Regions from separate parts of the Homo sapiens genome. Here all the other regions are linked to region 1. Evidence: promoter capture Hi-C in 16 types of primary human blood cells and fetal thymus (Javierre and others, 2016). All regions are on one chromosome and are shown on one strand. Each heading gives the region's core, a stretch centred on a gene start or on the middle of the fragment in contact. The rest is flanking DNA. Distances are from core to core; before and after follow the strand shown.

Region 1 (3,377 bases), core at 516-3,015:
CTGGTTTCTGAACTGAGCTCAAGGGATCCACCCACTTCGGCCTCCCAGAGTTCTAGGATTACAGGTGTGTGAGCCACTGCACTCAGCCTGTAGTTGTCTTAATTTAATGTTTCTCTTTCTTTCTTTTCTTTTCTTTCTTTCTCTTTCTTTCTTTTTCTTTCCTTTTTTCTCTTTCTTTTTTTCCTTTTTTTTTTTGAGACAGAGTCTCACTTTATCACCCAGGCTGGAGTGCAGTGGCCTGTTGTCGGCTCACTGCAAACTCCGCCTCCCAGGTTCAAGTGATTCTCCTGCCTCAGCCTCCCAAGTAGCTGAGATTACAGGCACCTGCCACCACACTTGGCTAATTTTTTGTATTTTTACTAGAAACGGGGTTTCACTATGTTGGCCAGGCTGGTCTCAACTCCTGACCTCAAGTGATCCGCCTACCTGGGCCTCCCAAAGTGTTGGTATTACAGGCATGAGCCACCATGCCTGGCCAATTTAATGTTTTTCTATTTTTGTTTTAAAATATTTACCTATTCTGAAGTCCAAAGATATTTTCCTATATTATATTCTGAAGACTTTATAGTTTAGGATTTCACATTTAGGTCTTAATCCAGCTACAATTGATTTTTGTGATGAAATGAGAGATAGAGGTCCTGTTTTCTGTTTTGTTTTTTTTTTTGAGACGGAGTCTCCCTCTGTTGCCCAGGCTGAAGTGCAGTGGTGTGATCTCCGCTCACTGCAACCTCCGCCTCCCGGTTCAAGCGATTCTCCTGCTTCAGCCTCCTGAATAGCTGGGACTACAGGTGTGTGCCACCACACCCAGCTAATTTTTGTACTTTTTAGTAGAGACAGGGTTTCACCATGTTGGCCAGGATGGTCTCGATCTCTTAACCTCGTGATCCGCCCACCTCAGCCTCCCAAAGTGCTGGGATTACAGGCGTGAGCCACCGTGCCCGGCCTTCATATTGTCATAGAACCTTCACTGAATAGACCATCTTTTCTCCATGGCTGTATGATGCCACCTTTGTCATAAATCCAGTTTTCAAGTATGCGTGATAAACCGTAAAGAAAAGCAAAGAGTCAAGTATCTGCTTTTGGTAAAATAAATAAATAAATAAATATAAATAAGAAAAGCAAAGTGTTATAAAAGTCGGGCTAGTGGTTTTCTCAGGAAGTGTATCTGTGAAGAACCTGACACTATTCTTTTTTCGCTCTAATGACTTGGCTGTTCATAATTATACTTATCTTTGGTTTATATTTCAGAATAAAATTGTGTTATATTTATCAATAAAAGGTTAGTTAAAAGTAAGCAAACAGAAAAAAAAAAAGAAATATTGATGAGGGGAGCGCCAGCATCTCTCAAAAGTGAGTTCGTGGTTTTGCTCTCAATGGAAAAGCCGGCGGGAGGTGCTAAGGTGGGGATGCTGAATCCACGGATGGCCAAGCGGAGACGCGGCACTTCACCGGGGGCAGCGAGGGGCCCAGACCTTGCTCGGATTGTCCCGGTGGTAACTGGGAGACCTCGCCAGTGAGGGAAGTTACAGATCAGCTGCGCCCGGAATTAAACGACCCACAGACAACGGCGCAAACAGAGGGACTGACCTGCTTTAGTGAGCTCCCAAAACCTGCTCTCGCATAAGCACACCCTCCTCCGCTCACAGAGACGGATTTCTGCCCCAGCCGCAGCCTCGCGAGGTAGGCGGCGCCGCGAGGGCCTCTGGGAAGGCGGTCCGTGGGCAGCCGCGGGGCACTCTGGGACTGGGCTCTGGGCGGCTTTTTTGCGAGTGGCGGGCCGACTGTGTAGTCCGCTCCGGCAGCGCGCTCTGCCCGGCTTCCTCAGTCTCCTCGCCGGGAGCGTCCGGGAGCAGCTCCGAGGCCGCGGCGAAACCAGGTGGAGTCCGAGGTTCGGAGGAGTATCAGAGGTTAGGGGAAGGCCGGAGAATGGGCTGGGAGGCTGCGTTTCGGAGCTTAGGGTTCTGTCCCTGCGATCGCCGCGTCTCCCTCCCTTGGTGGGCGCGGCTCCCGGGAAGCGGCTCGTCTCGTCTCCCCTCACAGGCCGGGTTCCCGTTCTGGACCTTCGCCCTCGGAACACAGTGCTGTTGGCCGGGACTCCTTCCCGAGGTGGACGGCTCCCTGTTCTTATTCCTGGCTCTGCCAGAACTGTAGGAAGTGCTCAGTACACTTTAGGGCATGCATGGCACTCCCTGGGAGACAGTGCTTTAGGGCCAGAGGAAAGATCTTCCCTGAAGGCAAACGCCCGCGGAGCCCACAAGTCCGGGCCGCACTGAACAAGTCAGGATGTTGCCATCGGCAATTCTGCAGAAGGCAGTAACCCATCTGAGAGAAAGAGCCGCTGTCATAAGGTCTCTTGCTTGAGCTGCTGGGTTGAGAATGGAGCTGGAAGAGGGAACTGATCTCGGAGCTCCTTGGGGATCTTGGTTATGTCTGACCCTTTTACTTTCAGGGAGCAGGGATTGGATCAAGTCATTGCATCTAGAGTACGGGGGAACGAAGAAATCATGGAGAGAGTTTGCCCCAGGAGAGAGGCGAGCGTTATGTAACCTAGGATCTGGGGTGGGTAACAGTCTGTGCAGTGTCAATGTGAGAGGAGAAAACACCCAACGTGAGGGAATGGTCAGGTAAGAAAGGACCAGAAGTTCCGGTTCTACCATAGCAAGGACCTAAGTTGCTAATTTAGGTTCTTTAATGCAGACCTGGTCTTTCAGAACTTCTTTCTCTTCCCTAGCCTTGTCATTTCAGCATTCTGGCCTTCCCTATGAGGAGGAAGATCAACGAAGTCACAGGTGAATAGGAGTTTCTCTTCTAAAGTTTCATCTCCTTTGTCAGGGGGAATCGATACACTCTCTCATCTCTTCCTTGGGGAAAAAGAAGGAGATCTATCTTCATCGAGTGCTAATATGCGTACTATATGTTATCACTCAATGGTCGGATATCTCAGTAGGGTTAGTAGGTATTTTAAAAATGTGTCAGTAACTTCAGGAAAACTAGAACCTTGTCCAAGCTTACTCAAAAGGCAAGTAGCATACTACTAAATGCTACCGAACTACTCAGGATTAGGTTTAGAATCCATATCTGTAGGACTCCCAGACTCTTGGCATTATGCTGTTTCCCAGCATCCCATTCACTTACTACCTAACAATTTTGCCATACCTGTGTACTACCTGTATTATTCTATGTTTTTACTTACTTTTTTTTTTTATAAAAATCAAACTTGTCCTAAGAAACAATATCTGTGAAATTAGCCATTTGATGGCTGCTCCAATAACAGTATAGTTATTCTAAGGTGTATCTAAAAATGTTGGTCCATGTGCTATGTAAAATCGTCTCGTGTCAGACATACAAACTACAATTTGGGACACAATGCACTGCAT
Region 2 (2,500 bases), core at 1-2,500, 430 kb before region 1:
ATAATTAATTAAAAAGCTTAATGAAGTTTTGGAGTAAAATGGTAAGTACGTTAACTTGAGATATATTTTCAAAATGCAGTTTGTCCTGAGTATTAAAATTGAGGTGTATTTTCAAAAATGCCAAAAAGAATATCTCCTACTTCTTTTTCTTTCTCTTTTTTCTTTTTCTTTCTTTCTCTTTCTTCCTTTCTTTTCTTTCTTCTCTCCTCCCCCTCCTCCTGTCCCCCCCGCTTCTTCTTCTTCTTCCTCTCTCTCTCTCTGTCTCTCTTTCTCTTTCTTTCTTTCAAGACGGAGTCTTGCTCGGTTGCTTAGGCTGGAGTGCAGTGGTGCGATCTCGGCTCACTGCAACCTCCACTTCTCTGGCTCAAGCGATTCTCCTGCCTCTGCCTCATGAGTAGCTGGAATTACAGGCGCATGCCACCATGCCTGGGTAATTTCTTGTATTTTTAGTAGAGATGGGGTTTCACTGTGTTAGCTAGGATGGTCTTGATCTCCTGACCTCAGGTGATCCACGTGCCTCGGCCTCCCAAAGTGCTGGGATTACAGGCGTGAGCCACCACACCCGGCCAGTTTTTTCTAAGTATTAAAAATAGATATGCAATTGAGATTGCTCTATACAGTGTTCTAGATTCTGATTTTTGAAAAGCTCAGAGTCAGAGGACTACCTATAGGTGGGCAAGCCATAGACGACACTGCCTCAGAATGCCATAGGTAAGTGGGACTGAGCCAAAGACAGAACATTAGCTAGGTAACTTAAAAAACATCCAACCCAGGACAGGCGCGGTGGCTCACGCCTATAATCCCAGCACTTTGGATGGCCAAGGCAGGCGGATCACCTGTGGTCAGGAGTTCAAGACCAGCCTGACCAATATGATGACACTTTGTCTCTACTAAAAATACAAAAATTAGCTGGGCATGGTGGCGGGCACCTGTAATCCTAGCTACTTGGGAGGCTGAGACAGGAGAATTCGCTTGAACCCGGGAGGCGGAGGTTGCAGTGAGCTGAGATCATGCCATTGCACTCCAGCCTGGGCAATGAGCAAAACTGTCTCAAAAGAACAAAACAGAAAAACCATATCCAACCGTTAGGTAACAAACCCTGGACACTTTCATATTCTGGAGTTGAAAATGTCATTACCCATAGCCTAGATGCTGGAGAACAACCTCTGGTTGGGAAGATAAGCAGTTACGACAGTGCCAGAATGGTGCTTCTGCCGTGGCCAACATCATTTTGAGTTTTCACAGTAAGGAAGTTCTTAGCTGTAATTTCTCAAGCCTTTTTTTTTTTTTTTCTCAAATCAGATTCTAGCTTCCCTTTTTACCTCACCACCCAAGTTGAGGCACCCAGTGCAAAAGAAAAGCCAAGCCAAGAGGAGACAAATGACCTCTGAAATAACATGGAGGAATTCTAGTAGACGGTGATTGGTTCAGATGTAGTACTTAGCATTTTGGAGAGTCTGTCTCCAATATAAAATCCTTAGGGCTGGGCGTGGTGGCTCACACCTGTAATCCCAGCACTCTTGAAGGCTGAGGCAGGTGGATCACCTGAGGTCAGGAGTTGAAGACCAGCCTGGCCAACATGGTGAAACCCCGTCTCTACTAACAAAACAAAGTATTAGGCATGGTGGCGTGTGCCTGTAATCCCAGCTACTAGTGAGGCTGAGGCAGGATAATCGCTTGAACCCAGGAGGTGGAGGCTGCAGTGAGCTGAGATCACACCATTGCACTCCAGCCTGGGTGACAAAGCAAGACTGTCTCAAAAAAAAAAAAAAAAAAAAAAAAAAAAAAAAATCCTTAAAGTGTAGAAGGCCCCAGAACTGGAGGTGGCAAATTACTGCAACTTCTGCTTAAGATACAGGACCTACTGCTAAACAAAATTCAAAACTCTAGTCCCACTCAACCTCCTGCAGGAGCCTCCCTTGTCAGTGCGTAATTTAGAAACAGGATTTCACATCTATTAATGTTTAAAAGTAATGTCCCTTGGCCAGGCGCACTGGCTCACGCCTGTAATCCCAGCACTTTGGGAGGCTGAGGTGGGTGGATCACCTGAGGTCAGGAGTTCAAGACCAGCCTGGCCAACATGGTGAAACTCCATCTCTCCTAAAAATACAAAAATTAGCCAGGTGTGATGGCACACACCTGTAATCCCAGCTACTAAGGGGGCTGAGGCAGGAGAATTGCTTGAATCTGGGAGGCAGGGGTTGCAGTGAGCCAAGATTGCTCCACTGCACTCCAGCCTGGGTGACAGAGCGAGACCCCGTCTCAAAGAAAAAAAAAGGAATGCCCCTCATCATGCATGGAGGCTTCCTGGATTTGTAGCAGACTGTACCTCAGCCAAGGCAGCTAGTTTTAAAACCTTTTTATCAAAAGAAGGGAATCAGACATGAGGTTTCTCTTGTTGTTTGGAAACCATAAGGTTTCAGGATGTAGTGGATTTTTGTAACCCAGTGCCTAATAAGCTAGAGCACATAATCAAGAGCCTAACAAGCTTCACCCATAT
Region 3 (2,793 bases), core at 1-2,500, 420 kb before region 1:
TCCCCAAACCCGCAGAGTTTCAGGATTTTCCTGATATGGGCAAATGCAAATATTTCTTTCAACTTTCATAGAAAATAAATTAAGCTCCAGCCAGGCATGGTGGCTCACACCTGTAATCTCAGCACTTTGGGAGGCTGAGGTGGGTGGACTACCTGAGGTCAGGAGTTCGAGACCAGCCTAGACAACATGGTAAAACCCCATCTCTACTAAAAATACAAAAAATTAGCTAGGTGTGGTGGTGAGCACCTATAGTCCCAGCTACTCGGGAGGCTGAGGCAGGAGAATCACTTGAACCTGGGACGTGGAGGTTGCAGTGAGCTGAGATCGCGCCACTGCACTCCAGCCTGGGCAACAAGAGAGAAATTCTGTCTCAAAAAAAAAAAAAAAAGAAAAGAAATTAAGTTCCATAAAGCTTCTTACACAGGAACATTTTAGGAAATTTCCCTTCCAAGATAGGTGACAATCTTGAATTGGAGGAGTGGATTTATCTGAATAAAAGAAACAAAAATCAATTCCATATAAGTGGTACAATATAACAAAAAGGAACGTACAGAAATTGGCCTCCCTGGGAGAATCCCATAGCATTGTAGCCTTGCTGCAATTTAGGATCCTTAGCAAGTGCCTGACACACTGTTGTTACTTGGGAATTGACATTCAAGAAGAAGCTGTTCTCCACGTCCTAAAAAAGAAGCCAGAGAGAAGTGAGAGGATGGGACTGAAAACAACCACTGACATCTTCTCTAAGAGGTAAACTCATTTAGGTTGGTATCCTCACATGAGCCACTCAAGGGTGAAAGTATCACTGTATGATCTGCTGCTGAAAACACAAGGCAAAGCATTTTAACAGTATATGCTATGAAATCAGTCAGCAACCCTTCAAAGGAACAGCTGTGAAGCGCCTTACCTCCATCAGGGTCTTCCCAATCTCTAAAGATAAGACGTAAATTCCAGGTATTTTCTTCTCCACCATTTTTTTAATAGCACCCATGCTTAAGGGATTGCAACAGCTGTCTCCTAGCCAACAAAACACAATGATGGAAACTCATGAGTCCAAATATTGTTTATTGTTTAAAAACTCTGAGGCCTCAAACAGCATTATCAAGGATGTGAAAACAATGTATAGAATGGAAGAAAATATTTGCAAAACAGTTATCTGATAAGGGCTTAATATCCAGAATATACAAGGAATCTATAACTCACTTACAACTCAACAAAAAGATAACCTAATTTAAAAATGGGAAAAGAAATTAAACAGATATTTTTCCAAAGAAGATATACAAATGGCTAACCACTGGCATGTGAAATGCAAACCAAAACCACGATGAGATACCATTTCACACAGACTAGGATGTCTTTAATAATAATTTTTTAATAGAAAATAACAAGTATTGTCAACGATGTAGAAAAATGGGACCCCTTGGACATTGCTGGTGGGAATGTAATAAGCAGCCACTGTGAAAAACAGTTTGGTGGTTTCTCAAAAAGTTAAACATACGATTACTAAATGACTCAGCAATTCAACTCCTAGTTATACACCCCAAAGAAATAAAAACACACGTCCATGCAGAAACTTGCATATAGATGTTAACAGCAGCAGTGTTTGTAATAGTCAAAAGGGAGAAACAATCCAGCAGTCCATCAATGAATGAATGAATAAAATGTGGTATATTCACACAATGGAATATTACTGAGTTATAAAAAAGGAACAAAGTGCTGACACATGTTACAACTTGAATGAACCTCAGAAACATTATACTAAGTGAAAGAAGCCAGACTCAAAAAGCCACATAATGCATGATTCCTTTCATAGGATAAATAAAGAACAGGCAAATCCACTGAGATACAGAAAACTAAGCTGGAGATTATCAAGAAGTAGTAGGAGGGGGCAATAGGGAGTGATTGCTTAATGGCTATGTGTGTTTTTCTGGGGTGTTGAAAAAGAAGTGTTAGTTGCACAACATTGCAAATACACTAAATGCCACTGAATCGTACCATTTTAAATGGTTAACTTTACATGAATTTTTACCTCAATTTTAAAAAACAGAAGAAAGAACATTTTTTGCTTAGCTCCTGTTTATCAAGTAATAACAAGCTTCAAAAGTCCATACAGGAGCTGGGTGTCATGGCTCACGTCTGTAATCCCAGCAGTTTGGGAGGCCGAGGTGGGTGGATCACAAGGTCAGGAGCTCGAGACCAGCCTGGGCAACATGGTGAAACCCCATCTCTACTAAATATACAAAAATTAGCCGGGTGTGGTGGCACATGTCTGTAGTCCCGCTACTTGGGGGGCTGAGGCAGGAGAATCGCTTGAAACTGAAAGGTGGAGGTTTCAGTGAGCCAAGATCATGCCACTGCACTCCAGCCTGGGCAACAGAACAAGGCTCCATCTCAAAAAAAAAAAAAAAAAAAAATCCATATAGGCCAAGCATGGGCTCATACCTATCATCCCAGCGCTTTGGTAAGACGAGGCAGGAGGATTGCTTGAGGCCAAGAGTTCGAGACCAGTTTGGGCAACATAACGAGACCCTGTCTCAAAAAAACCAAAAAGCCCATATAGGATAATTAAGACACCAAATTTACAAATGAAAAATAAGCAGAGGTACACATTCCCTTCCCCTATCACAGGGGATATTTGGGGTGAACAGATGCAAAGTTTTCTCTTCAGGGCCAGGACTAGGGTGAGGCAAATTAAGCATCTAGGACAGCGGTCTTCAACCTTTTTGGCACCAGGGACCAGGTTTGTGGAAGACAATTTTTCAAAACTGTTCCACCTCAGATCATCAGGCATTTGCT
Region 4 (3,377 bases), core at 655-3,154, 390 kb before region 1:
GAAAGGGTGGTAACTGGCCAGGCATGGTGGCTCACACCTGTAATCCCAGCACTTTGGGAGGCTGAGGCAGGCAGATCACAAGGTCAGGAGTTCAAGACCAGCCTGCCCAATATGGTGAAACCCCGTCTCTACTAAAAATACAAAAATTAGCCAGGCATGGTGGCACATGCCTGTAGTCTCAGCTACTCAGGACGGTGAGGCAGGAGAATCATTTGAACCCGGGAAGAGGAGGTTACAGTGAGCCAAGATTGTGCCACTGCACTCCAGCCGGGGTGACAGAGCGAGACTCCATCTCAAAAAAAAAAAAGGAAAGAAAAAAGAAAGAAAAGAAAGAGCAGTAACTTCGGGCGTTGCCATGGAAATGGTAAACTGACATGGCACACTAGTGGGAGTGTCTTACAGAGAGGTGCTTTGGACTTTTCCCTGTTTTAGCTATTTCTCTATCTGGTCCGAGGTTCAAGCCCTGCCTCTGGAGATGAGTTTCACATCCTACCTCAATGGCATTTACAGTTGCCTCACCTTCTTCCTGAGACATTCTGTACCCAAATCTTTGCATGACTGGCTCATTCTTGTCATTAGTTTTTCAGCTCAAATGGGAGTCCCTCGGAGATGCCTTCCCAAGACCATCAGTCTACAATACAAGGCAGCACTGTTTTTTATTTTCTTCAGAGCAATGTTTACTCTTGTCCATTTTTGTTTACTTGATTATTATCAAACTCTTCTGTCTAAAGGAGGACTAACCAGTAGAATTTTCTGCAATGATGGAAGTATTGTTATATTTGAGCTGTCCAATATAGTAGCCACTAGTTACCATATGACTCCTATGCACTTGACATGTGGCTAGTGTGAATGAGTAAAAGAATTTTTAATTTAATTTAATTTAATTTTAACTGATTTAAATTTAGATAGCCACATGTGGCCAGTGGCTACTGTACTGGACAACACAGTTCTAGTATGTAAGCTTTGAGAGAGCAGGGATTCAATCTTATGCTTTGCCATATCTCCAGAACCTAGAACAATTAAATACTTCTAACCAAGATATTCTTTGGAGGATGGAGTCTTGTCAGTGTCTAACATTTGGGTCAGATGTGGCCAGCAATGAGTCATTCATTGATTTGGCTTTTGTCTTAGGAACATCAAGATGAAGATCAAGGAGATCCCTTTTCTTCAAAACATTGCTGAAAAAGATAGTGTAACAACATTGCAGAAAAAATTTTAAAAGTAAGTAACCTCCTACAATTCTTCCAGCAAACATTGCAACTGTTTTAATTTTTTGCATACTGTCTTCCAGATTTTGTTCACATGCAGGTGTCTTTTCAATATTTTGCAGACACAGAGGACACCATCAAAACTTTGTCCTTGGGGGCTGGGCACGGTGGCTCATGCCTGTAATCCCAGCACTTTGGGAGGCCAAGGCAGGCGGATCATTTGAGGTCAGGAGTTTGAGACCAGCCTGGCCAACATGGTGAAACTCTGTCTCTACTAAAAATACAAAAATTAGCCAGGCGTGGTGGCGCGTGCCTGTAATCTCAGCTACTCTGAGGCAGGAGAATTGCTTGAACTCAGGAGGTTGAGGTTGCAGTGAGCCAAGATTGCGCCATTGCATTCTAGCCTGTGCGACACAGACTCCATCTCAAAAAACAAAAACAAAAACAAAAACAAATACCTTTGTCCTTGGAGAACATCTCCAATGCCCAGCCAGGTCTTAGCTCAGAAGGAACCTGACTATTGGAGTCATTTCCTGTGGCTCACCCAGTGAAGAGATCTTACCACCCCACAGCCACTTGGAGAGCCCCGTGCATTGAAGACACTGGGTTTGGCCCTGGGTATATAGCAATTGAAGATCATTTGTGAAGGACTGATATTGAAGAAGGCAGGGGCTATGCTGGCTTATTCATTCATCCAACAACTACTATACTGTGCTATTGAATATCATAAATATTTTCCTTATTTGTACAGGGTCTACTATTTTCCTTTTTATGGCTGAGTAGCAGACACACCAAAATCTACTAAACCTATTCTTTGTGGATTGTAGACCATTTAACTTATGCCCATTATTGGATCTTACAGAATTCTGTAATTAACTCTTCCTGCATGGAGCTTTTTACTTTTGTTGTATTATTTCCTTATAGTGTAGTAGTTGCTTATGTGTATAGGTTCTGGAAAGAGATGATCTGGTTTTTAACACTATCCATGGTAGTTTGGGCAAATTTCTTAACTTCTCTATATCTCAGTATTTCATTTATCAAGAAGGGTCACTAATAACACCTTCCTCATAGGATTGTTGTGAGAATTGAAATGAATAAATTACATGTAAAGTGCTTGGTTCTGAGTTAGTACTCTATACAGAATAACAACTGCTGTTATTATTAATTCTTGATCCAGGAGTAATTTCAAGGATATTAATATTTTCAAGACTGTTTCTAGATTGTGGTAATGGTTGTACAACTCTGCAAATATATTAAAAGTCATTGAACTATACACTCAATAAAAGCCTTTTGCTAATTATGGCTATTTTGTTTTCCCAAATGGTATTCCTATTTTCATTCCTATCCTCACCTCAATTTTATCACAATCTCATCAGAAATGGGGGCTACTATTTTAAATACAGTTTTCTTTATTTGAGAAAGGTCAAATAGAACCCTTAATGTGCTTTCTCTTGCATTTTTTACCTTATTACTAGCAACGAATGCATGTATTGTTTACTCTTTGCTTCCTATTGAATATTTGCTCCCTCTTGCTCTAACTCTGCCCATTTTACTTCTGTGGCTGAAGTCCTTTTTCTTGAATAATCTATTTCTTAGTATGTCTTAATTTACTAATAATAGTGAGTTGGTCTCTAAAAGGAAAGCTTTGAAAAAGCTAATTGTTTTCTCCTTAAAGGGCTCCTCAATATTCTACCAGACCTATGTTCTCATTAGCCAAGGGCCTTCTCCCAACATAGTCTTTCCATCCTAATGTACCTGCAGCATTTTTCCCAGGGCCTGCACTCTAAAGACTTGATAAGAAAAACTTTGAACACATGCTCCTTTCTTCTTGCTTTTCATATCTACTGATTGGGCTTGGAATTCTGCCAAGATAAACAGTGTCCTCTGCTCTTCAGGAAAATGCAAGGCTTCTCAACCATCTTTGAGGGGCCTGCTTCAGATGACAATTTCACAACATGTTCACAGGGCAAACTTGGATTGAGAAGACCCCCAATTTAGAGACAATAAATCTCCAACTGGAAAGAAAGCATCACTACTTTCCCTAGTACAGTAATGTTAATTGAAATATACAGAATGTTGTAACTCTTGCAGTTCCATTTAAGTGAACTAGGGATGACAGCAAAAGAGGCTGACAAGCTGGCCAAACAGGGACTTCCTAGCCCAGGGTCT
Region 5 (3,377 bases), core at 358-2,857, 360 kb before region 1:
CCTCCCAGAAGGGAATGCTGAGCCCCTGGGAAAGGAACAAAATGTTCCCAGGGTCCCAGGGAGGTGATGGCAGCAAGTCCAGCCATGGGAAATGATAATCAAAATCAGCTTCTGAAGCACATCCTCTCCCTCACCTGGAAGCCACTCTCACTCTTCAAATGCTTCTCATTTGAAGACCTTTAGAGGACATTATTTTGTGTTATCTATATACTCTCATTCCCCAGGCATGGAGAAGTAGAAATGGGTAAGAGAAAATATGGGAGAAAGTTTCCTGAGCACAAATTAATAGGACTTAGAATCTAACCTGATTAGATTTGGGGGGTAGAGAAAGAAAGGATAAAAAATAACCGTGGGAGAAGCTAGGGTGTTGGAACAATGGTGGTTTAAGATCTTCTCATTCCCTTTACACCAATTGTACCCTCCCTAAGCAAACTTCCGGTGTTAATTTTGCTTCCCAAGCTGACTTTTCTGTAGAGATACCATTATATTTCTTAAGGTAAATTAGTAATTTGGGCTCTTGTGCCTTAATCACAACCTAGGTGAAATGATAGAATCAAGTTATTGAATTTGCAAATCAGAAATCCTAGCCTAATCAATCAGCTCCTTTGATGATCCACAGTATGGGTCTGTCCTCTTGATCATTTTGTCACTCACAGGACAAAGTCGTGAAAATAGATGGCATCCATGGTCAGTAGGTGTGGAGGGACTACAGTAAAGGAAACTAAAGTTATCCTCTGAAGCTGAACCTTATAGGAGTAATACTAGTGACACTGAGTGCTTACTGTGCATCTGGCCTCATTCTCCGCTCTTTGGATAAATCTCATTAGGACCCACAACTATGAGAATTATGAGACACATGCTGTTACAATGTCCACCTTAAGATGAGGAACCCAAGGCTCAATGAAATTAAATGATCTAAAGGCACACAACGAATAAGCAGTCGGAGCTGGGATCCAAACCTGACAAACCTGACCCTAGAGCCCTCTGGGTTTTACCCATAATGAGAAAAATTTACCTTGACCATAGTAGTTGTCCACAATGTTCCATGAATCTAAACAGATGGATCTTAAAAATGTAACCACTCTAACTCATCGTTTGTGTCTTACTCATGATGTATTGAGAGATATCTAGGTTCACTCAAGCCGGTGGTTGGGTTGGGGGGTATGGGGGGGACCTGGGAGTATCCATAGAACTGGAATATGATAAAGAAAGTTGCAATTAAATTAACTGTATTATAACTTCTGAGGGAGAAAAGAATATAAAACCCAGGACTTGTTTTTTTTCATGATGTATTTTTAGCCTCTAGGACAGTACCTGAAACATGGTAGACTTTCAGTGAATATTTGTTGAGTAAATGAATGATGCCACTCAACACTGTCCTGCAATCTTCCTGCACATATCTAGAATGCATTCTTTTTTTCTCACTCTAAAACAACTCTAACAAAGTTTTTACTGTCTCCTCAAAGGCTCAACATTGCCTTTCTCTACCACCTCAGCTTTCTCTCACAAGTCATGGAGCAAAAAGAAGCACTCAGGCAATGACTCCCAAATCTCCCACTGCCAAATCTATACACCTACTTGCATCTGTACCCATACTCTCCAGATTCCCTCCTTTTGAAATAAAAATACATATCTAATTTCTATTGCAGATCAAACTTCTTGTATTCTGGATGCCATGCCCTCTTGCCTTCTCAAGGACTTTTCTCCTGCAATCCCCCCACCCTGTTTTCTACATTAAATTTTCTCCTATTTTCCTGTATCATTTCCATACACATGCAACCATGCTCTAGAATCTCCTGTTGACATGGTTTGGCTGTGTCCCCACCCAAATCTCATCTTGAATTGTAATTCCCACGCGTTGTGGGAGGTACCTGTGGGAGGTAACTGAATCATGGGGGCAGATCTTTCCTGTGCTGCTCTCATGATAGTGAGTAAGTCTCACAGGATCTGATGGTTTTATAAAGGGGTGCTCCCCTACACAAACTCTCTGCCTGCCACCATGTAAGACACGACTTTGTTTCTTTTTGGCCTTCTGCTGTGATTGTGAGGCTTCTCCAGCCGTGTGGAAGTATGAGTCAATTAAACCTCTTTCCTTTATGAATTACCCAGTCTCGGTTATGTCTTTATTACAGGCATGAGAACATACTAATAAACTTATCTTTAAGAATTCCTTCCAAAACCTCATATCCCCTTAATAGCACAGCCCCGGTTTTATTCTCCTCTTTCTCAGAAAAACTTCTGAAGAGGGTAATTGCCCTGCTCTTTTTACTTTCATATCTCACATTAATTCTTCAATCTTCTTCAGACAGGATTCCATACCAGAGATCTACAGAAACTTCTCTAGTTGAGGTTACCAACCAATACTCATGATGTCACATCAAATGGACATTTGTGTGTCCTCACCTTACCCAAACTCTTGTCAGCAGCCTACAAAGCTGACCATTCAGCTTCTTCCTGCCGCTTTCTTCTTTTGTCTTGAGGAATATCACACTCTTGGTTTTCCCTCTGTCTGTTCAGTGGGTTCTGAACATTCTTTGATGGCTGGATCCTACTCCTCTGACATCTTAGTGTTGGCAAGATCTTGGACCCTCCTCCTTCTTTCTGTTTTGAGGTTGCAGACCGTTGGCTCATCAGTCACACTGGACTCACAGGTGGGTATTATTTGGCCTGCAGTTTTCAAAATAGGAAATCGTGTTAAAAAACAAAATCAAATAAAAGAAAAACGACAACAACAAAACCAAAACTGAACTTCCAATTTATCTTGGAGAATTAGCAGACCTAGTAAAATGAGTTCTGTATTCTCATATGGCAATAATTTTCTGGAGCTGAGTACCTGCTTCTTGGGTCATTTCTTAATCAACTCATTCTTTCCAAACATCTTATACCCAGCCTGTGTCATTCATTTAGGTGAGCTGACAAAGGCTAGTAGGAATATAAATTTATGACCCTTAGTTTATACTCTCCCCAGTGGATCTTATTTAAATACCCATTTAAATACCATATGCTTTAAAAAGTCTTCTTTCATAACATTGAGTGCACACAATATGCCCGGAACTACTGTACCAGACACTGGGGATACAGCGGTGAATGACGCAAGTCACTCTACTTCCAAAGAACTTACCTTCTATAGAGGGGAGACACACACAACAGTGATAACATAAAGCCAAATAATATTTGGGCTGGGCGCAGTGGCTCATGCCTGTAATCCCAGCACTTCGAGAGGCTGAGGCGAGCGGATCACGAGGTCAAGAGATTGAGACCAACCTGGCCAACATGGTGAAATCCTGTCTCTACTAAAAATACAAAAATTAGCTGGGTGTGGTGGCAGGTGCCTGTAATCCCAGCTACTTGGGAGGCTGAGGCAGGAGAATTGCTTG
Region 6 (3,377 bases), core at 493-2,992, 340 kb after region 1:
CCACTGACCATGGCATCCTGTCTCCTGCCTCTCCACTCCCCTGGAATTGCTCTGGCAAAGTCATTTTGACTTTCTGATTGCCCAATTGAACAGCCTCTTTTTAGTCCTCACTTTACCTGACTTTTCAGCAGCATTAGGAACCCCTGACCACGCCCTCCTTTGGGAAACATCTCCCTGGGCTTTCAGGACACCTTTCTGCTGTTTCTCTCCCACTTCCCCAGCTGCTAATTCTCGGCCTCTATCCAAGGTTCTGTCCTTGGCCACATTCTTTTATCACTGGGCATCATCATTCCCAAGGCAACAATGGATGTGCTAATACCCCCCCAAACAAAGTTACTGTCAGTCCAGACCTAATTCCTGAGCTCCAGACCCATTTATCTGGCCCTCTTCCTCCTAGATGTCCACCTTGGATGGCCTGATGTGTCCATCCTAATCTATCCTGCTCCCTACAGCCTGCTCTTCCTGCTAGGATTCACCTCATGGAAGAGTCACTCTGTGCCCCAAGCCACACCCCTGGGAATCATTTTCCACTCCTTTCCTGTAGCCTCCACATCAGTGGGTCATTATCGTGACTGCAGGATCCATTCCCATCTTCTTCCCAGTAGCAGAACCTCTGAATTCTGCTTACACATATGGCCACCCAGAATAAAGACTACATTTCTGAGCCTCTTTTGTAGTTAGGGGCAGAAAACTTCCAGAAAGTTCACGACTCCTCTTTTCTCTTTTTTTCTGGCTGGAATGTTGATATGGTAGCTCGAGCAGCCTTTTTGGATCATGAGGTCTAACCCACAAATGACAAAGCAACAAGGTGGTGGGGCCTAGATGCTGACACTATGGATAACTACACCCATTCTGGACTACCTACCTGGTTCTTTTTATTTAAGCTACTGTTTTTCTGTCACTCAAAGCCACGTGCATAATCCTAAGTAATCGAGATAGAGTCATTCATTCTTCAAAAGAATATTCATGTATGCTAGACATTGCATTTCATGCTTTCTCAGCGCTCTCCATTTCTCCCACCTGCCCCTCTCAAATCCATTCTACTCACCACAGCCAGAGTGACCTTTCCAAAACACAAACCCAACTGTTTCCACTCGGCTCATGTCGTCTGTGACTCCCCATTACTAACAGAATCAAGTTCAAGCTCCTCAGCCTGCCACTAAGGGTCACCCCTCTTTGACCCTTGCCTACTCCGAGCACAACCCTTCCCCCGCTGACCATGCACCCTACACACTAACCACCCCGGACTTGTTGCCTTTCCTAGTAAAGTCTTATTCATTCATGTCACTCGGCATTTGCACACATTGTCACCTCCCTTGGAATTTCCTTCTTTCACGTGCTCATGTTCAAATTCTACCCCATCCTTCCCACTGTGTAAGTACCTAGTATGTGTTATGAACTGTGGTCAGTGTTTTCACAGCAGCAACTCATGGGTAAGGCCCCTTACTATCCTCATTTTACAGACAAGGAAACTGAGACTCAAAGAAGGGAAGTGAGTTGCCACAGATGAGTATTCATAGTGATGACTGCTACCAGGTCTACTAAATCTAAACAGTTCTTTTTTTTTTTCTTTGAGACAGAGTCTCGCTGTGTCACCCAGGTTGGAGTGCAGTGGTGCGATCTCGGCTCACTGCAACCTCTGCCTCCCGGGTTCAAGTGATTCTCGAGCCTCAGCCTCCCGAGTAACTGGGACTACGTGCCACCATTCCGGCTAATTTTTGTATTTCTAGTAGAGACAGGGTTTCACCATGTTGGCCAGGCTGGCCTCGAACTCCTGACCTTAGGTGATCTGCCTTCCTCGGCCTCCCAAAGTGCTGGGATTACAGGCGTGAGCCACTGTGCCCAGGCAACAATTCTCTTTATGTAGGACTCAGGCCTCTGATATCTTCCCCATCTGTACCAAGTACTCTGGGGCATAGGAGACTTGAGTTCTAATCTCAACTGAGCCACTTATTACTGTCACTTGGCTGTGGTGGAGGCTGCTGGTTGTCTACCAAAATCCATTTCCCCTCTTCCAGAGTAATTAAGTTACTGATGAACACATTGTCGCCAGCTAGAAACCGTATTTCCCAGCCTTCCTTACTGCAAAGTGTGCTCATGTAATTAAATTCTTGTCAAGAAAATCTGAAAAGTGACATGAGTCACTGGGCCTTAGAACACCAGGTGTGCTCACCTCCTCAGTCTCACCTTCCTGAGAGCCAGACACAAAGATGTCCATGACCCAGATTCCGCTCTGCAGAAAAAGATAGAAAAGGAAAGAAAGCCAACTTGGACTTTGAGGAGACATCTTGGCCCACGAGGTTGGAGTCATGAAAAGCAGAGCAACAGGAAGCAAGCAATCTGGGTCTGAATGACGGAGTGGAATCAGAAAGAAGTCTTTTCTGCTCTGCAAGCCACTTTAACATCTTTCTGGGCCAGGTACGGTGGCTCATGCCTGTAATCCCAGCACTTTGGGAGGCCCAGGCAGGGGGATCATTTGAGCCCAAGAGTTTGAGATCGGGCTGGGTAACATAGTGAGACTCCATCTTTACAAAAATTAAAAAATTAGCTGGATGGCGTGGCGTGCGCCTGTAGTCCCAGCTACTTGGGAACAGGAGGATTGCTTGAGCCCAAGGAATTCAAGGCTGCAGTGAGCTGTGATTGTGCCACTGCACTCCAGAGTGAGGCTCTGTCTCAAACAAAACAAAATGAAATCCACTTTTCTTGTTCTCTTTGTTGTAGCAGCTAACACTTAAATATTTCTTACTATGTGCGAGGCACCATCCCAATTATGTTAAATATTTTAACTCAATAAATTACTAGCTGTGTGGAAGCAGGCAAGTCATTTCGTCTCTGTAAGCCACAGTTCCCTCATCTCTCTATAACCTGGAATAATAATGCGCTAGCTTAGATGACAGCGAGTCAGGTGAGATATCATGAGTCAGTACTGAATGACCTAACAAGCAGACAGCTCATGTGTTTAAGGTACTAGCTGCAAATTTGAAAGACTTTGATGCGAAGAAGAAAAAGGGGAGGACGAGGAGGAGAAGAAGATAAAGTATTGCTATTGCAAAATAGCCATGGAAAGATTTGGGGCTTCCTTACACTGATTTTACAGCTAAGCAGTATTTTATTTTGAATCACATACAGGGGAACAAGAAAACTTACCCAAGCTACGTGGGCTATAAACGAGGGAGAGGTGGTTTCCCAAAGGAATTTTTGGGAAACCTTTTATCAGGAGAAGGGTGACTAAATCCTGGAAGGCATAAATAGCAGACGCCTACTTCTGCCCTTGGGTCTTTCTCCGCTGGCTGAAGAGCCCCGTCCTTCAGCCATTTGCGTGGGACATGGTTTGAAGTCCTCCCTGCCCACCCTGGACCCCTTCTCTGGACATACTC
Region 7 (3,377 bases), core at 489-2,988, 320 kb before region 1:
ATTGGAATGTATTCTTTAAACATTAAATGTGACCATCCTGAAAGAAATTCTCCTTTCTTGATAGTTTCAAGGAATAGTCAGAATGCTGCCAAGCTCCTTGAAACCATGTAGTGAGAAATGTAGAGAGAATTAAGGGTGAGGGGAGATTTTTTTTGCTTTGAAAATGTAGTCATGCTTATTAAAGAAAATTTGAGAAGTTTAGAAAAGTATAAAGATGACAAAAATTGCTCATATTCCTGCTACCTCAGTGCTAACCATGTAAGCATTTTAGTTAATTTCTTCTAGTCATTTTCCCCTTGGACATTAATTTTTTCAATGTACAGACATACGTGATTATAACACATATACAGAACTAGAGGTTATTTAGCCTAGAGAAGTGAACCAATGTAGCAGTCTAGATGAGGGATATTGGGGGCCTGGTTTAGGTGAATGGCTACAGAGATAAAGCATAGGGACAGGAGACAAAGATATTTCTGAGATAGAATCAACAAACTTTGGTGTGGTGGTTTCAAAGATAGTTTTTTAGCTCTGGCTCCTGAAAGGAGGCAGATGGAACATAGGAGGAAGAGCATATTTGCTGGGGAAGATGTTTGGTTTTGGACATGCTGAGTTTGAGATTTGAATAGGACATCCAGATGGAAATATGTAATAGGCAGTTGAGGTATATAGCAAGGACTTGAGAGAGTAATTTGAGGGTAATCTGCTTGGGATGTGAATGAGAGCACCGAATAGTCAAATATGGTGCGTAAGTGAGCTAATTTTTTACTTATATATCTGACCCCTTAGTATATATCATAGCCTTTCAAGGGCAGGAATAGAGTCTCCATCCTTACTTCCCAGCACAGTACAAAATAGTAGGTATTTGTGGAATGAGTTTACTGAAACAAAAGAGAGAGGTCATTAATTTGGTCACTGTAGAATGAACTTTAGGAGGTCATCTTTATCATTTATTGCCCCTTTTCTCTTCAGTTGTGATTTCAGTTCCTAAAGAAAAATAAGAGACCGTGGCTGGGTACAGTGGCTCACACCTGTAATCCCAGCACTTTGAGAGGCCAAGGTGGGAGGACCACTTGAGGCCCAGGAATTTGAGACCAGACTGGGCAGCAAAGAGACCCTGTCCCTACAAAAAAAAAGTTTTTTTTAATTGGCTGGGCATGGTGATGCACTTCTCCAGTCCTAGCTACTCAGGAGGCTGAGGTGGGTGGGAGAGAGGATCACTTGAGCCTAGGAGTTTGAGGTTATAGTGAGCTGTGATTGAACCACTGAACTCTAGCCGGGTTCAAGCAATTCTCCAGCCTCAGCCTCCCAAGTAGCTGGGACTAGAGGCATGCGCCACCACGCCCGGCTACTTTCTGTATTTTTAGTAGAGACAGGGTTTCACCATGTTGGCCAGGCTGGTCTGAACTCCTGACCTCAAGTGATACACCTGCCTCGGCCTCCCAAAGTGCTGGGATTACAGGCGTGAGCCACCTTGCCTAGTCCAGTTTTTTAAATGCAAGATTAGGTTGAAAGGATTACAGCCATCCTGTTATTTGGATGGCTGTAATCCTTTCAACCTAATCTTGCATTAAAAAAAAAAAAAAAAAAAAAAAAAAGCCGGGCGCAGTGGCTCCCAGCACTTTGGGAGGCCGAGGCGGGCAGGTCACGAGGTCAGGAGCTCGAGACCATCCTGGCTAACACGGTGAAACCCCGTCTCTACTAAAAATACAAAAAAAAAAAAAAAAAAAAAATTAGCCGGGCATGGTGGCGGGTGCCTGTAGTCCCAGCTACTTGGGAGGCTGAGGCAGGAGAATGGCGTGAACCTGGGAGGTGGAGCTTGCAGTGAGCCAAGATCGTGCCACTGCACTCTAGCCTGGGCTGACAGAGTGAGACTGTCTCAAAAAAAAAAAAAAAGCAAAAAAAAAAAAAAAAAAAAAACCACAAAGGCTGGATGCGAGGTGGCTTTTGCCTGTAATCCCAGCACTTGGGGAGGCCAAGGCAGGCGGATCACTTGAGGTCAAGAGTTCGAGACCAGCCTGGCCAAAATGGTGAAACCCCATCTCTACTAAAAACAGGAAAATTAACCGAGCCTGGTGGCGCACAGTTGTAATCCCAGCTACTCAGGAGCCTGAGGTGAAAGGATCCACTTGAATCTGGGAGGTGAAGGTTGCAGTGAGCCGAGATTTCACCACCGCACCCCAACCTGGGTGACAGAGTGAGACTTGATTAAAAAAACAAAAAGAAAGAAAGAAAATGCCTGGCTAGCCACAGTGGTTCATGCCTGTAGTCCCAGCTACTTGGGAGGCTGAAGTGGGAGGATCACCAGCAGTGATAGAATGAGACTCTATCTCAATTTAAAAAAAAAGTGATAATGAAGAAGATTGATTATTCCAGCCATTCTTCACATACCCAGAGTATGCTTATAGTGGGTATAAGAGATCTCACTACTTAATTTGAACCAACACATGAGGGGGTAAAGATTTAGGAATATAAAAAGTATAAATTAGTATAGAGCAAACTGGAAGTTCCTCAAGAGTATTGAATCTTTGAAATTGTGTAGCTTACAGAAGTCCTGGTGGAATGTCTGTCAGAAGCTATTAGATTGGTGGCAAGAGCGTTCTAAGTGGACAGGTGGATTGTGGAAAGACTAACCCCATCTGTATGCACTCTGTCCTTCTCTTTGCATACTTTAGTTAGCAGTTGGTTAATTTGCATGTGTGGTTTCAGCCATCATGTTGTATTGACTCATTCTGAAAGCTCTGTGAGGATAGGCCACATGTCTGCCCGCCCCCACTGCATCTAGCACTTTATGTGTGATAATCTATTGAAAAATATTTGTCAAATGAATAAAATGGTGAATGTATTCAGCAGACATTTAGTGAGACTTGAGAATGTCCTGTGGGGGTGGAAGTGGGTAGAGGAGTGGTAGGCCTATAAGGATTGATGAGACATAATGTCTGACTTTAAGGAACATAAATCTGGCACTAAATATAAATTTTTGAAACTCCTTAATTCTTAGATTAGCCAATGCAGACAGTAAGTAACTTACTGACCTAAACCAGAATTTTTTTGTAACATAGATTTTAATAAATTTCTTTGTTTTTTGTTTTTTGGTTTTTTTTTTTGAGACAGTCTTGCTGTGTCGCCAGGCTGGAGTGCAGTGGCGCAATCTTGGCTCACTGCAACCTCCGCCTCCCAGGTTCAAGCGATTTTCCTGCCTCAGCCTCCTGAGCAGCTGGGACTACAAGCGCGCGCCACCACGCCCATCTCTAATATTTGTATTTTTAGAGACGGGGTTTCACCCATGTTGGCCAGGATGGTCTCGATCTCTTGACTTTGTGATCCGTCCGCCTCGGCCTCCCAAAGTGCTGGGATTACAGGCGTGAGCCACAGCACCT

The links. Contacts are between HindIII fragments. The CHiCAGO score rates a contact against its expected background, and 5 or more counts as called.
Region 2: a fragment that was not itself captured here is called in contact with the fragment with the promoter of EXO5 in region 1 in 4 of 17 cell types (naive CD8 T cells, non-activated CD4 T cells, total CD4 T cells and 1 more); the score reaches 7.3 in naive CD8 T cells.
Region 3: a contact is called between a fragment that was not itself captured here and the fragment with the promoter of EXO5 in region 1, in 8 of 17 cell types (total B cells, total CD4 T cells, naive B cells and 5 more). The highest score is 9.0, in total B cells.
Region 4: a fragment that was not itself captured here is called in contact with the fragment with the promoter of EXO5 in region 1 in 8 of 17 cell types (naive CD4 T cells, naive CD8 T cells, naive B cells and 5 more); the score reaches 9.2 in naive CD4 T cells.
Region 5: a fragment that was not itself captured here is called in contact with the fragment with the promoter of EXO5 in region 1 in 2 of 17 cell types (naive CD8 T cells and activated CD4 T cells); the score reaches 6.3 in naive CD8 T cells.
Region 6: a contact is called between a fragment that was not itself captured here and the fragment with the promoter of EXO5 in region 1, in 1 of 17 cell types (fetal thymus). The highest score is 5.6, in fetal thymus.
Region 7: a contact is called between a fragment that was not itself captured here and the fragment with the promoter of EXO5 in region 1, in 5 of 17 cell types (naive CD8 T cells, naive CD4 T cells, total CD4 T cells and 2 more). The highest score is 6.8, in naive CD8 T cells.

Annotation. Positions count from the first base shown.
Region 1 is chr1:40,507,002-40,510,378 of GRCh38, forward strand. It overlaps EXO5 (exonuclease 5), which reads left to right and starts at 1,766. Exons shown (of 4, transcript NM_001346953.2): 1 at 1,766-1,907; 2 at 2,450-2,624; 3 at 2,732-2,789. EXO5-DT (EXO5 divergent transcript) reads right to left here and starts at 1,694. Exons shown (of 2, transcript NR_187365.1): 1 at 1,588-1,694. RefSeq lists enhancers at 1,803-2,052, 2,083-2,172. The HindIII fragment of the contact is 5,200 bases long and covers 1-3,005 here.
Region 2 is chr1:40,074,201-40,076,700 of GRCh38, forward strand. The region is part of intron 8 of PPT1 (palmitoyl-protein thioesterase 1); the gene reads right to left. Among named protein-coding and RNA genes, the nearest start is that of PPT1, 22 kb to the right of the region's middle. The HindIII fragment of the contact is 2,472 bases long and covers 15-2,486 here.
Region 3 is chr1:40,091,494-40,094,286 of GRCh38, forward strand. PPT1 (palmitoyl-protein thioesterase 1) reads right to left here. Exons shown (of 9, transcript NM_000310.4): 2 at 905-1,014; 3 at 552-679. Among named protein-coding and RNA genes, the nearest start is that of PPT1, 4.4 kb to the right of the region's middle. The HindIII fragment of the contact is 1,680 bases long and covers 411-2,090 here.
Region 4 is chr1:40,119,975-40,123,351 of GRCh38, forward strand. No RefSeq gene overlaps it. Among named protein-coding and RNA genes, the nearest start is that of PPT1, 24 kb to the left of the region's middle. The HindIII fragment of the contact is 1,890 bases long and covers 960-2,849 here.
Region 5 is chr1:40,145,585-40,148,961 of GRCh38, forward strand. LOC105378671 (a long non-coding RNA gene) reads right to left here. Exons shown (of 3, transcript XR_947232.3): 3 at 2,117-2,667. Among named protein-coding and RNA genes, the nearest start is that of RLF, 14 kb to the right of the region's middle. The HindIII fragment of the contact is 9,755 bases long and covers 1-3,377 here.
Region 6 is chr1:40,850,405-40,853,781 of GRCh38, forward strand. The region is part of intron 1 of LOC105378676 (a long non-coding RNA gene); the gene reads right to left. Among named protein-coding and RNA genes, the nearest start is that of CITED4, 10 kb to the right of the region's middle. RefSeq lists an enhancer at 1,595-1,684. The HindIII fragment of the contact is 4,104 bases long and covers 1-3,377 here.
Region 7 is chr1:40,183,949-40,187,325 of GRCh38, forward strand. All of the region lies in intron 1 of RLF (RLF zinc finger), which reads left to right. Among named protein-coding and RNA genes, the nearest start is that of RLF, 24 kb to the left of the region's middle. RefSeq lists a silencer at 2,598-2,787. The HindIII fragment of the contact is 6,433 bases long and covers 1-3,377 here.